2 separate regions of the Homo sapiens genome follow, and region 1 is linked to region 2. Evidence: promoter capture Hi-C in human tissues and cell types (Jung and others, 2019). All regions are on one chromosome and are shown on one strand. The core of a region is centred on a gene start or on the middle of the fragment in contact, and the rest is flanking DNA. Distances in the headings are between cores, read along the strand shown.

The links. Contacts are between HindIII fragments. The study calls those that stand out against the background at their distance.
Region 1: a fragment that was not itself captured here is called in contact with the fragment with the promoter of RDH11 in region 2 in 1 of the 25 tissues and cell types used here (dorsolateral prefrontal cortex).

Annotation. Positions count from the first base shown.
Region 1 is chr14:68,830,696-68,838,163 of GRCh38, forward strand. No RefSeq gene overlaps it. Among named protein-coding and RNA genes, the nearest start is that of ZFP36L1, 41 kb to the left of the region's middle. The HindIII fragment of the contact is 4,582 bases long and covers 1-4,346 here.
Region 2 is chr14:67,693,872-67,701,282 of GRCh38, forward strand. RDH11 (retinol dehydrogenase 11) reads right to left here and starts at 1,893. Exons shown (of 7, transcript NM_016026.4): 1 at 1,759-1,893. The coding sequence starts at 1,832. It also overlaps a transcript of GPHN not described here. RefSeq lists a silencer at 1,001-1,060 and enhancers at 1,410-2,046, 2,091-2,140, 2,161-2,210. The HindIII fragment of the contact is 4,554 bases long and covers 651-5,204 here.

The DNA of each region.
Region 1 (7,468 bases), core at 806-3,305, 1.1 Mb after region 2:
GCAGATATCTCTTTGATATATTGATTTCTTTTCTTTTGGATATATACCCAGTAGTGGATTGCTGGATCAAATGGTGGTTCTCTTTTTAGTTTTTTGTGCTAAAAATAGCTCAAAAAGTGCTATTGATAGTGGTTGTACTAATTTACATTCCCACCAACAGTCTATGAGGGTTCCCCTTTCTCCATATCCTCAGCAGCATCCCTTTTTGATAAAAGCCATTTTAAGTGGAGTGAGATGATCTCACTGTTGTTTTGATTTGTATTTCTTTTTTCTTTTTCTTTTTCTTTTTCTTTTCTTTTTTTTTTTTTTTTTGAGACAGAGTCTTGCTCTGTCACCCAGGCTGGAGTGCAGTGGCACGATCTCGGCTCACCGCAACCTCCGCCTCCCGGGTTCATGCCATTCTCCTGCCTCAGCCTCCCGAGTAGCTGGTACTACAGGCGCCCGCCACCACGCCCAACTAATTTTTTGTGTTTTTAGTAGAGACGGGGTTTCACTGTGTTAGCCAGGATGGTCTCGATCTCCTGACCTCGTTGATCCGCTCACCTTGGCCTCCCAAAGTGCTGGGATTACAGGCGTGAGCCACCTCGCCCAGGCTTGATTTGTATTTCTTTGATGATTAGTGATGTGGAGCATTTTTTCATACACCATTTGTGTGTCTTCTTTTGAGAAATGTCTGTTCAGATGTTTTGCCCATTTTTAAATCAGATTTTTTTTTTGCTATTAAGTTGTTTGAACTCCTTATATATTCAGTTATTAATCCCTTGTTGGATGAGTAGTTTGCAAATATTTTCTCTCATTCTGGGGGTTACCTCTTTACTTTGTTGATTGTTTCTTTTGCTGTGCAGAAGCTTTTTAGCTAGCTGTAATCCTCTTTGTCTATTTTTGCTTTTATTGCCCGTGCTTTTGAGTCTTACACAAAAAATCTTTGTCCTGGAGTGTTTCCCAATGTTTTCTTCTAGTAGTTTCATAGTTTCAGGTCATAGACTTAAGTAATTAATCCATTTTTATATATGGTAAGAAATAGGGGTCTAGTTTTATTATTTTGCATATGGTTATCCAGTTTCCCCAGCACCATTTATTGAAAAGACTCTTCTTTCTCCAGTGTATATTCATGGCATCTTCATTGAAAATTAGTTGGCTATAAATGAATGGATTTTATATCTGAGTTCTCTGTTGTGTTCCCATTGATCTGTGTATCTGTTTTATGGCAGTACCATGCTGATTTGGTTATTACAACCTTGTAGTATATTTTGAAATCACATAATGGGATGTGATGCCACCAGCTTTGTGCTTTTTGCTCAGTATTGCTTTGGCTATTTGGGGTCTTTTGTGGTTCCATATAAATTTTAGGGTTTTTTTTTTTCCTATTACTGTGAATAATATCATTAGTATTTTGAAAGGGCTTGTGTTCAAGCTATAAATTGCTTTGGGTAATATTGCCATTTTAACAATGTTAATTCTTCCAATCCATGAGCAGGGACTATCTTTTCCTTTTTCGTATGTCGTCTTCAATTTCCTTTGTCAAAATTTTATGGTTTTCCTTGTATAGATCTTTCACGTCTTTGGTTAAATTGATTCCTAGGGGCCAGGCACGGTGGCTCATGCTTTTAATCCCAGCACTTTGGGAGGCTGAGGTGTGTGGATCACGAGGTCAGGAGTTTGAGACCAGCCTGGCCAATATGGTGAAACTGCATCTCTACTAAAAATACAAACAACAACAAAAAATTAGCCGGGCATGGTGGCATGTGCCTGTAGTCCCAGCTACTCAGGAGGCTGAGGCAGAAGAATCGCTTGAACCTGGGAGGCTTGCAGTGAGCCAAGATTGAGCCACTGCACTCCAGCCTGGGTGACAGAGCAAGACTCTGTCTCAAAAGAAAAAAAAAAAAATTGATTCCTCGGTATTTTATATTCTTTGTAGCTATTATAAATGGCATTGCTTTCTTGATTTCTTTTGCAGATTGTTTGCTGTTGATGTATGTAAATGCTGATTTTTGTACATTGATTTTGCAACTTTACTGAATTCGTTTATCAGTTCTAACAGTTTTTTGGTGGAATCTATAGATTTTTCTAAGTATAAAATTATGTCATCTGTGAACAAAGCTAATGTGATTTCTTTCATTCCAATTGGATGCCCTTTATTTCTTTCTCTTTCCTACTTGCTCCGGCCAGTACTTCCAATATTATGTTGATTAAAAGGTTGAGAGTGGGCATTCTCGTCATGTTTCACATCTTAAAGAAAAGGCTTTCCATTTTTCCCTGTTCAGTATGATGTTAGCTGACAGTTTGTCAGATATGGCCTGTATTATTTTGAGATATGCTCCTTCTCTACCCAATTTGTTGAGAGTTTTCATCATAAAGGGATGTTGAATTTTATTGAATACTTTTTCAGCCTTGATTGAAATGGTCTTATGGTTCTGTTAATGTGATGTATCACATTTATTGATTTGCAAATGTTGAACCATCCTTATGTCTCTAGGATGAATCCCACTTGGTCATGGCAAATGGTTTTTTTTTGAGACAGAGCCTCACTCTGTCCCCAGGCTGGAGTGCAGTGGCACAATCTCGGCTCACTGCAACCTCTGCGTCCCAGATTCAAGCGATTCTCCTGCCTCAGCCTCCCGAGTAGCTGGGACTACAGGCATGTGCCACTATGCCTAGTTAATTTTTGTATTTGTAGTAGAGATGGGGTTTCACCATGTTGGCCAGGATGGTCTCGATCTCCTGACCTCATGACCCGCCTCCCTCAGCCTCCCAAAATGCTGGGATTACAGGCGTGAGCCACTGTGCCCAGCCGCCAAATGGTCTTTTTAATGTGTTATTGAATTCAGTTTGCTAGTATTTTGTTGAGGGGTTTTGCATCTATTTTTATCAGTGATATTAGCCTGTTGTTTCTTTTCTTGTCATGTCCTTGTCTAGTTTTGGTATCAGGGTAATGACGACCTTGTAGAACAAGTTTGGAAGTATTCCCTATTCTTCAGTTTTATTGAAGAGTTTGCATGGAATTGGTATTAATTCTTGTTTAAATGTTTGGTAGAATTCAGCAGTGAAGGTATCATGTCCTGGGCTTTTCTTGATGGGAGACTCTTTGTTACAGCTTCAATTTCATTAGTCATTATTGGCTTGTTCAGGTTTTCTATTTTCTTCATAGTTCAGTCTTGATATTCATATGAACAATATTCATAGTTCAGTCTTGATAAGTGTATATGTTCAGGAATTTATCCATTTCTTCTAGGTTTTCCAGTTTGTTGGCATGTAGTTGTTTATAATAGTCTCTAATGATTCTTTGAACTTCTGTAGTCTCACTTATGTCTCCTTTTCAGTTTCTGATCTTGTTTACTTGGGTCTTTTCTCTTTTTTTCTTAGATAGTCTAGCTAAATGTTTGTTGATTTTATTTTTTCAAAAGAACCAACTTTTTGTTTCATTGATCTTCTGTATTTTTTAAATCTCAATTTCATTTATTTCTGCTCTAATCTTTAGTATTTATTTCCTTCTACTAATTTAGGGTTTGGTTTGTTATTGCTTTTCTAGTTTCCTGAGGTGCATCATTAGGTTATTTATTTGAAATCTTTCTGCTTTTTTGATATAGTTGTTTGTTGTATAAACTTCCTTCTTAGTATTGCCTTTGATGTATCCCCCAGATTATGGTATATTTCCTTTTAATTTGTTTTGAGAGACTTTTTACATTTTTTTTCTTAATTTATTCATTGTCCCATTCATCATTCAGGAGCATGTTGCTTAGTTTCCATGTATTTGTGTAGTTTCTGAGGTTCTTCTTGTTATTGATTTCTTGTTTTATTCCATTGTAGCCAGAAAGGATACTTGATATTATTTCTTCTTTTCTGAATTTGTTGAGACTTGTTTTGTGGCCTAAGACATGGTCTACTCTGGAGAATGTTCCATATGCTGATGAAAAGAATGTGTATTCTGCAGCAGTTGGGTGAAATATTCTGTAAATATTAGTTAGGTCTACTTTGTCTAGTGTGTAGTTTAATGTTTCTTTATTGATATTCTGCATGGATGTTCTGTGCATTACTGAGAGTAGAGTGTTGACATTCCCTACTATTATTATATTGTAGTCTATCTCTCCCTTTAGATAGATTTATGTTTGATTTATATATTTGGGAGCTCTAACGTTAGGTGCATAGATATTTATAATTGTTGTATCATCTTGCTGAATCGACCCCTTTATCATCATATAGTGACCTTCTTTGTCTCTTTTTACAGTCTTTGACTTGTAGTCTATTTTATCTGGTATAAACATATCTACTTCCCTTTTTTGGTTTCCAGTTGCGTACTATATCTTATTTTAACTGGACACACTTCCAGTCTATGTGTATCTTTTTTTTTTTTTTTTTTTTTTAGACAGAGTCTTGCTCTGTCAGCCAGGCTGCAGTGACATAATCTCGGCTCACTGAAATCTATGCCTCCCAGGCTCAAGCAATTCCCCTGCCTCAGCCTCCCGAGTAGCTGGGATTACGGGCATGTGCCACCATGCCTGGCTAATTTTTGTGTTTTTAGTAGAGACGGGGTCACCATGTTGGCCAGGCTGGTCTCGAACTCCTGACCTCAGGTAATCCGCCCACCTTGGCCTCCCAAAGTGCTGGGATTACAGGTATGAGCCACCGTGCCCAGCCCAGTCTATGTGTATCTCAAAAAAAAAAAAAAAAAAAAAAAGGTATCATTCTGTCTTCTAAGCTGGAGTGCAGTGATACGATCATAGCTCACAGCAGCCTCAATCTCCTGGGCTCTATGTGTGTCTTTATAGGTGAAATGGGTTTTTTTGTAGGCAACATATAGTTGGGTCTTGTTTCTTTATCCATTTAGCCATTCTATGCCTTTTAATTGGAGAATTTAATTCATTTACATTCAGTGTTATTTTGATAAGTAAGAACTTACCACTACCATTTTGTTGCTTGTTTTTTGGTTGTTTTGTAACTCCTCTCTTCCTTTCTCTCTTTCTTACTGTCTTCCTTTGTGGTTAAGTGGTTTTCTCTGGCAGTATGTTTTAATTCATTGCTTTTTATTTGCAGTGACTCTATTATAGGTTTTTGCATTGTGGTTACTATGAGGCTTACAGAAAACATCTTATAAATATAACAAGTCATTTTACAGAGGTGGCAACTTATCACAAAGTTCTAGATCACAAAGAAAATAATAGAAACAAAAATGAAAAAAATTCTACACTTGAACTCCATCCTCCTCACATTTTGTCTTTTTATTGTCTCAATTTACATATTTTTATACTGCCTATCTCTTAGTAGGCTGCTGTAGCTATATTGTTTTTGATAGATTTGCTCTTTAGGTTTCATACTAGAGTTATGCATGAATTGCACACCACATTTACAATATTAGAATATTCTGGGTTTGTCCATGTATTTAATTTTACCAGTGGATTTTATACCTTCAAGTGTTTTCTTTTTGCATGTTCGTGGGGTGGTTTTTTTCCTTCTGGTTGAAGAACTCTCTTTAGCATTCCTTGTAAGATGAGTCTGGTGGTGGTGAATTCTCTGCTTTTGTTTGTCTGAAAAAGATTACATCTCTCCTTAATATTTGAAGGACAACTTTGCTGGATACAGTATTCCTGGATGGCAGGGTTATTTTGTTTTGTTTTGTTTTTTCCAGCACTTTGAAAATGTCATCCTACTCCCTCCTGGCCAATGTGGTTTCCATTGAGCAGTCTATTGCCAGACAAACTGATGCTCCTTTATATGTTATTTGCTTTTCTCTTGCTGCTTTTAGGATCCTTTATTTATCTTAGACTTTTGAGAGAAAATTATTTTATGCCTTGGGGTGCTCTTATTTCGGTAGAATCTGTTTGATGTTCTCTGACCTTCCTGTACTGGATATTCATATATTTCTCAAGTTTTGGAAAGTTTTCTGGTATTATTTCTTTGAATAGAGTTTCTGCCCCTTGCTGTTGTACATATCCCTCTTGAATACCAATAATTCTTAGATTTGGTGTTTAGAGGTAATTTTCTATATCTTGTAGATAATTTTCATTCCTTTTCATTCTTCTTTTTTCTCCTATGGCCATATTTTTTATTAGCCTGTCTTCAAGCTCACTAATTATTTCCTCCACTTAACCCATTCTGCTGTTAAGAGCCTCTAGTGCATTTTTCTGTTTGGCAAATGTATTTCTCAGTTCCAAGATTTCTGTTTGTTTGATTTTTTAATTATTATTTCAATCTCTTTGTTAAATTTTTCTTGGCTGGGCACAGTGGCTCATGCCTGTAATCCCAGCACTTTGGGAGGCTGAGGTGGGTGGATCGCCTGAGGTCAGGAATTCAAGACCAGCCTGACCAATGTGGAGAAACCCTGTCTCTACTAAAAATACAAAAATTAGTCTGACATGGTGGCAGGCACCTGTAATCCCAGCTACTCGGAGGCTGAGGCAGGAAAATCACTTGAACCTGGGAGGCGGAGGTTGCAGTGAGCCGAGATCACGCCACTGCACTCTGGCCTGGGCAAAAGACTGAAACTCCATCTCAAAAACAAAACAAAACAAAAGTCTCAAACATTTCTGAATTGATTTTATGTGTTATCTTGGCGATCACTGTTTCCTTAAAACTGCTGTTTTGAACAATTGGTCAAGGGGTTCATGTATCACTGTCTCATTAGAGTCAGTCACTGGTTCCTTGCTTTGTCCATTACAGAAGGTCATGGTTCCCTGTTTGCTGTTGTTTCTTCTGGATGTCTCCTCTGTTTTTGCACTGAAGGATCAGTTATTTACTCTAGTCTTCTAGGTTGGAAGAGTTTGGAGGGCTCAGAAGAAGACAGGATGATGAGGGAAAATTTGGAGCTTTTTAGATACTGAGTAAATGGTTGTGACCAAAATACTGAGAGATATAGCCAGTGAAGGCCAGGCTGATGAGGTTCAGATGGAAATGAGTAAGTTACTGAGAACTGGATTAAAGTCACTTGTGTTATGCCCTAGCATAGAACTTGGCTGCATTGTGTTCATGTCCTTATAATCTATGGAAGTTTGAACATAAGAGTAATGACCTAGGGTATCAGATGCAAGAAATTTTTAAGCAGCAAAGCATTCAAGAAGTGGCATGTAGCCAGGCATGGTAGCTCACATCTGTAATCCCAGCACTTTGGGAGGCCAAGGCTGAAGTATTGCTTGAGCCCAGGAGTTCAGCCTGCGTAAACAGTGAGACACCGTCTCTACAAAAGATTTAAAAATCAGCCAGACATGGCAGTGCATGCCTGTGGTCCCAGCCACTCAGGAGACTGAGTGAGACAGGAGGATCAATTGAGCCTGGGAGGTCAAGGCTGCAGTGAGCCATGATCATTCCACTGCACTCCAGCCTGGGTGACAGAGCGAGACTCTGTCTCAAAAAAAAAAATTTTTTTAGGAAAAAATAAATATAGGAGTGATGTGGCTGCTTCCAACAGTCTAAATCAGATGCAGGAGAAAAGGAATGACTTAAAGTTGGAACTTATATTTAAAAGGGAAGCAGAGCA
Region 2 (7,411 bases), core at 643-3,142:
AACTCCTGACCTCAGGTGATCCGCCCACCTCAGCCTCCCAAAGTGCTGGGATTACAGGTGTGAGTCACCAAGCCCAGCCTAGAGTGCTTGTTTCTAAGTACTATACTATATTGCCTTTTCCAAATGAATGAATGCACAAACACAGATTGGTGGTTCTCAGACTGGCCTATTCTCTTCTTGGCAATGTTGGGACTCTGGTTAAAACAATCTGTTGACCAGGAGATGCATTCTTAAAGAGCATTTCAGCCTTTTTCATTGAACTTGGAATTGCAAGGTACATACTCTTAGCCATTGAAGCTACCTGCATAGTGCGAAAATGCTGACAGGGAGGCAGATTAACTCATGGTCCCCACAAACCATCACCTCCCTCCTCAGAAAACAAGCCTCTAGGCTGTTTCCCACATCCCCTTACTGTATGTAGCTCCAGGAGTGACAACTTAGTAGGACCTGTACTTAGTTCTTTCTTCTCCTTAACCAGCAGGAATGAAAGAGACAACTATAAAAGTCCAGCTCTGGCCCGACTCCCATAACCCTGCTGAGTTGGGAATACAGCTCCTGGAATATATATATATATATATATACACACACACACACATATATATATATACACACACACACATATATATATATATATACACACATATATTTTTTTTTTTTCCAGAAAAATCCCTCTGGGGTATGAGCACTATTTTCAGTTCTGGTTCAACTTTTCATTGAGATTCTATGTGGATAAGAGGATCTTGTAGTGAAAAAAAGATAAAAAGCAGTGTTTTCATCTGAGTGTGAGAAACCATGTGTGCCTAGAGGTGGGAGAACTGAGTGTTCAGAAGGCAGAAAAAATATAACTGGAAGAGGGGCACCAGAGAAGGAAGAGAAAATAAAAATAAAAGAAGGAAAGTAGGTGACTGTGGTAAGAAATGACTGTGATCTGGCCTGGCTTCAAGTTCTATTGGGACTAAGACCGCCCACCTGGGGAAGGAGTGTGTCTGTCTATTCAGTCACTGGTCCGTCACCACTGGTGATTTACTTAGAACCAATAAGCAGGCTGCCGGTTTTACAGCCCGCTGCTGATTCACTGGGGCACTTGGCCAGCCTTGGGCTGATTGATCTATCACCTGGTCAATACCTTCCCACCATTCTCCCAGCCCTCACCGCCCCAGTACCCTAGCTCCTAACTCAGATCCCCCGTGCTCCTGCTCGCAAGGCAGGATAGAGCTCATAACCAAACACTCTTCCTTTTCACTTTTCTCCTTTACAACATCCGCCCACAGAACAAGCGATTGTAACAGCAACGAGAGAGCAAGGATGGGGCCGCAGATGTTACGATTGCTATCAGTTTCAGAGGGCGAAATGTGGAATCGCTCCTTTGTACCTCGAAGGCTGGTTTAAGGCGTGGGGAATAAGGGGAAAACAGCGTCGGGCCATATCCCATTGAAGAGTCCGAAACTCAAGCGTTTGAGGTAGCCTTACCCTCGGGATTCCCTGGAGCCAGAATCAGGGGGTGCTTAGACAAAAGAAAAACAGGCCAGGGAAAAGCAGTGTGCCCCGGACTGCCGCCCTTTCTCACCGCCTGGGGTCTCGGGTGTCCTCCTGGCACCCAGGACAGCTGGACCTCGCCTCCAACCCACCGAACTCTGGGCTCCGCCATCTTGGAGCCCCCCCAGGGGAGTTTTCCAAGAAAGCTTTGGTGGGGATTCTATGTTTCCCTCCCGCCCCGCAACAAGAATTCTCAAGAGAAGGCAATACATTTGCACAGACCTGATTTGGGGCGCAGCCATATACAGAAGGAAGGGCAGAAGGAGGAGCAACAGCGGGAACATGAGCTCAACCATCTCTGCCGGCTGCAGCGGCACCAGAGCGGGATGCTCCAGCGTTGCTCGCCGACTATGGCTTCTCTTTCTAGACACGCCCCAATTCAAATTGCGACAGCCCGGGGAGCAGACCTTCTGGGAAATGTAGTCCAGAGCTTGACAGCCTCAGGCTGGCTACGTGGGAGCGCTGCCGCCAACGCTGGCAGAAGTTGAATTATACATCGCTAATCCCCAACCATCTAGGGCTTAGGGCCTGTGGGATCATTCACCCAGCTCTCAGTTATTTTTTCTGCCTTCTGAATACTCAGTTCTCCCACCTCTAGGCACACATGGTTTCTCACACTCAGATGAAAACACTGCTTTTTATCTTTTTTTCACTACAAGATCCTCTTATCCACATAGAATCTCAATGAAAAGTTGAACCAGAACTGAAAATAGTGCTCATACCCCAGAGGGATTTTTCTGGAAAAAAAAAAGTATACACTATAGGAATAGTACACTTATTCCTATAGTGTACTAGGCACCGCGGTGTTTGTGAAATCTCTGCAGTCCTCTATCTCCCCAGACCCAAGTCCAGTGCCTGGTTCAGTTTTCCCCAATCCTGGTTAGGCAGTTACCGCACTGTTTCTCCTGGAGATCAGATGTTGGCGTCTGGGAAATGAAAGGCGGATTAGACAGGAGAGGAGCGGTCCGAAGTCTGACAGTTGGGAAGGTGGGGGAATGTAAACCCTTCCTCCTCGAGGATTCCTTTTTCCAGAGAAGAGGAAGCAATAAGTCCTTGAAGACATTCTCAGGAGAATCACTTTATTGTGTCTATCTTGAATTATGGTGGCAACTATCATGATTTTTCTAGTGTTTGAGTGTTCATTGATAATAGAATATCGTCTTCCTGATGGCTTGGGTCACATACATTAACTCCCAGGGTAGCAATGAATATCTCAGATTGGCACAGTTGGTTTTGCCAACTCGTGAAAGTATTTAATCCTGTCTTGAATTAAGGCCATGAATATGTTCTCTGTGAATAAATAGGTTCCCTGTTCAATAGTTTCTTTCATCTGAGGCCTATTTCCTGGGGGTGAAAGTGGAGGGTGTTTTAACCAATCAATATCTGTCTGTGATTCCTTAATTGTACCCAGTAATATTTTCTGGTCCTTTTGCATAATTTCCATTTGGTTAAAAGACACGGGTTCCAATGAACTAATATATTTTATAGCAAATTGGAGAAGAGAGGGTTTCCTTCACACAATACTAATTCCTACCAATTTAACATTAGATTACCTAGCAATCATCACATTTTGTCACATTCTCATTATTGTGTTACCTAATATTTGTATTGGGTTTTATAACTTTATAAAAGCCTTTCATTTGTTTTGTTCCTTATTCAGTCATTCACGCATTTGACAAACATTTATGGCATTCCTATAGTGTACTAGGCACTGTGCTGATGTCCAGCAGGAAGCCAGGAACACATAATCTCTGCTCGCCCGGAGTTCATGGACTGTCAGAGAAGACCTTAAATAAGTAATCACTGTAAATAAATCATGGTGAAGGTTATGAGGAGGATTAGAGAAAGCTCTGGGAGCTTTTACAAGGGAGAGGAGTTCTAGATCAGGAGAGGCTTATTTGAGGAAATAACATTTGAGCGGAGGCCAGAGGGAAGTTAGTAGGCAAGCAACATAGACAAGAGTGTGCTGAGCAGAGGAAAGACCCCACCTGAGGGTTCACAGTCAGAGAAAGCAGGGTGCACTAGAGCAACAGAAAACCGTCTAGGGAGAAGGGAGAGTGCCAGAAATGGCAATAATAGCCAGTGCTTAAATACTGCTTAATTATGGCCAGGCCCTGTCCCAATGATTTATATATATATATTAACTCTTAATTCCCATAACAACTCTAAGAGGTAGGTACTATAATTTTCCCTATTTTACAGACAAGAAAACTGAGGCACCGTGTAAGCTAGCCTAGGTCAAAGAGGCAGAGCTGGGATTCAAACTGAAGCAGGTGGTGTTCCATGAGAGGGCCCTATATGCAAAGTGGCCCCCAAATGCCAGAGGAGCCAAGACACCAAAGGTTGAGGCAGACAAATCCAGTTTCTTGGTAAGGGTGTTTTACTGTGGGAATTTACAGACAGAAATGTGGGCTTGGGTGGCAGATTTCTGTACATGTAAGCTCCACACTCAGAGTTTATATACTGTAGGGAAAGAGTCAAACTGCTCTGTGCAAGACAATTAAAGGTAGCCCTCCAGAACAGGCAAGAATGCTACATGTGTAATAGATAATAATTTGTGCAATAACATCAAGGTTGACATGTTCTTACACTAGGGACAGTAAATAAAGTAGGAATCAGGAGATATTCACAGGACTGGGGCTAATCAACATTGCAGTCAACATTGAAGTCAGCATTGCAGATTAGCATCCCAGATGCAGTCACTTTTGTCCACCAAGTTGTATGCAGGGTCTATTGTGCCCTTAACTATTGAGCTATATTGCCAAAAGATGAAGCTGGAAATTTCTCCCCATACTTGTGTGTATTTGCATATCCATATAAAATTTGCATATAATTTCAGGTGGTTTATAGACACATTGGAGCCATAATGGAATCTAGATTAAAAACCATTGATTATCTCTACTAAAAAATTAGCTAGGCATGGTGGTACACATCTGTAGTCCCAGCTCTTTGGGAGGCTGAGGTGGGAGGATTGTTTGAGTCAGGAGTTGGAGGCTGCAGTGAGCTAGAATTGTGCCACTGCACTCCACCCTGGGTGGCAGAGCAAAAACCTATCTAAAAGCAGAGGGAAGCTTTGAGGAACCCTAACATTATGAAATGGGTAGAGGGAGGGGAGCCCAAAAATTGACTGAGAAACGGCCAGAGAGGTTGGAGATGTATCAGACAGGGTTCAATCAGAAGTGAGAAACTACACAACAATTTGAACAGGGAAAGTTTAACATAAAAAAATTATTAACTATAATGGGATTGGAATAATGAGGGACTGGATAGTATAGGAGCTGTTATACTTCTCCTGAAAAGAAAAATAAATATTTTATGCTCTGAGGAGGATTTGGTCTCTGTTGCAGCTACTCGACTCTGCTGTTGTAAATGTGAAAGCAGCCATAGATAATATTTGAACAAATGTGTTCAAATGTTACTGTGTTTACTGTTCAAATGTTACTGTGTTCCAATGAAACTTTATTTACAAAAACAAACAGTGGGCTGCATTTGGCCTGTGGGTCATGGTTTGCCAACCTGTGTGCTAGTAAGAAGAAAAGAGAACTCTAAAGAAGATAAAAGGGCCAGGCATGTTGGCTCATGCCTGTAATCCCAGCACTTTGGGAGGCCGAAATGGATGGATCACCTGAGGTCAGGAGTTTGAGACCAGCCTGCCCAACATGATGAAACCCCATCTCTACTAAAAATACAAAAAAATTAGCTGGGCATGGTGGCAGGCACCTGTAATCCCAGCTACTTGGGAGGCTGAGGCAGGAGAATCACTTGAACCCGGGAGGCAGAGGTTTCAATGAGCCAAGTTCGCGCCATTGCACTACAGCCTGGGCGACAAGAGCGAGACTCTATCTCAGAAAAAAAAAAAAGATAAAAGGCTGGATGTGGTGGCTCATCCCTGTAATCCCAACACTGGAAGGCCAAGGCGGGAGGATCACTTGAGCCCAGAAGTTCGAGACCAGCCTGGGAAACCTAATGAGTCCCTGTCTCAACCAAAAATTTAAAAAATAAATGAATAAATAAACAAAAAATAAATAAATAAAATAGGCAGTGTACTGGTGTGTGCCTTTGGTCCCAGCTACTCCGGAGGTTCAGGTGGGAGGATTTCTTGAGCCTCACAGGTTGAGGCTGCAGTGAGCTGTGATTGTGCCACTGCACTCCAACCTGGAAGACAGAGCAAGACCCTATCTCAAAAAAAAAAAAAAAAAAAAAAAGAAACAGAGAGAGAAAGAAAGAAAGTTATGTGGATGTAAAAAATCTTCACCTTTTTAAAGCTTTTTTTTTTAAAGTGATCAAAACACAGTAAGTCACAGGAATTACCTTGATAAAACATTAAGAAAAATTTTAGGATAGTTACTAAAAAGTAAAGAAAAACCTTTTGTAATATGATTGTTTTTCTTTATTGGAACTCTATTTAGATAACCTGGAAGACAAACTCAATGAAAAGAATACTTGGATTTAGGCTGGGCGCGGTGGCTCACGCCTGTACTTCCAGCACTTTGGGAGGCCGAGGTGGGCGGATCATGAGGTCAAGACATCGAGACCATCCTGGCCAACATGGTGAAACCCCGTCTCTACTAAAAATACAAAAATCAGCTGGGCGTGGTGGTGCGCACCTGTAGTCCCAGCTCCTTGGGAGATGGAGGCAGGAGAATCGCTTGAACCTGGGAGGCGGAGGTTGCAGTGAGCTGAGATGATGCCACTGTACTGCAGCCTGGAGACAGAGCGAGAAAAAAAAAAAGGATACTTGGATTTAATTAAAATACAGGAAGAGTGTGTCCAGAGTTATGAGTGTACACTATATTTTTGAGGAAAGTAAACAAGGAAACTTGTATCTTAAGCAGGACAATAAATATGTCTCAGTAACAGCATCAAAAGTGCCCTGGTTATAGGAAATAATTTAGCTATATCGAGAAAAGCCAAGACTACAGAATCAAGTTATATTGGAGGAAAATGGTTTTGTTCCAGAGCTTTAAGATAAACATTTTAGCATCAGGCCACACCAGAGTTAGAACCAGAGAAAAAGATTACAGAAGGCCGGGCACAGTAGCTCACGCCTGTAATCCCAGCACTTTGGGAGGCCGAGGTGGGCAGATCACGAGGTCAGGAGATCGAGACCATCCTGGCTAACACGATGAAACCCCGTCTCTACTAAAAATACAAAAAATTAGCCGGGCGTGGTGGCGGGCGCCTGTAGTCCCAGCTACTCGGGAGGCTGAGGCAGGAGAATGGCGTGAACCTGGGAGGCGGAGCTTGCAGTGAGCCTAGATCGCGGCACTGCACTCCAGCCTGGGTGACACAGCAAGACTCCATCTCAAAAAAAAAAAAAAAAATTACAGAAGTTGGCTGGGCATGGTGACTCATGCCTGCAATCCCAGCACTTCGGGAGGCCGAGGCGGGTGGATCAGCTGAGGTCAGGAGTTTAAGACCAGGCTGGCTAGAATGATGAAACTCTGTCTCTACTAAAAATACAAAAATTAGCTGGGCACGGCGGCGAATGCCTCTAATCCCAGCTACTCGGAGGCTGAGGCAGGAGAATCACTTGAACCTGGGAGGCGGAGGTTGCAGTAAGCGGAGATCTTGCCACTGCACTCCAGCCTGGGTGACAAGAGCAAAATTTCATCTCAAAAAAAAAAAAAAAAAAAAAAGTCAAAGATTACAGAAGTTGACAAAAAGGTTGAAGGAGAGGATTATCATTTCAACCAAGAAAAACATGTATCTTTTTAAGGGTATAAAGAACGAACAACAACGATTCATGACTTGGGAATCATGTGCAGCGAGGTATAGCACAAGTAGAATTTTTTGAGATATAAATTTGAGAAGTTTTAGAAAAGAAATAGATTGTAGAATTTAAAATCAAAAGCTCTTGTAATTCACTAAGAGC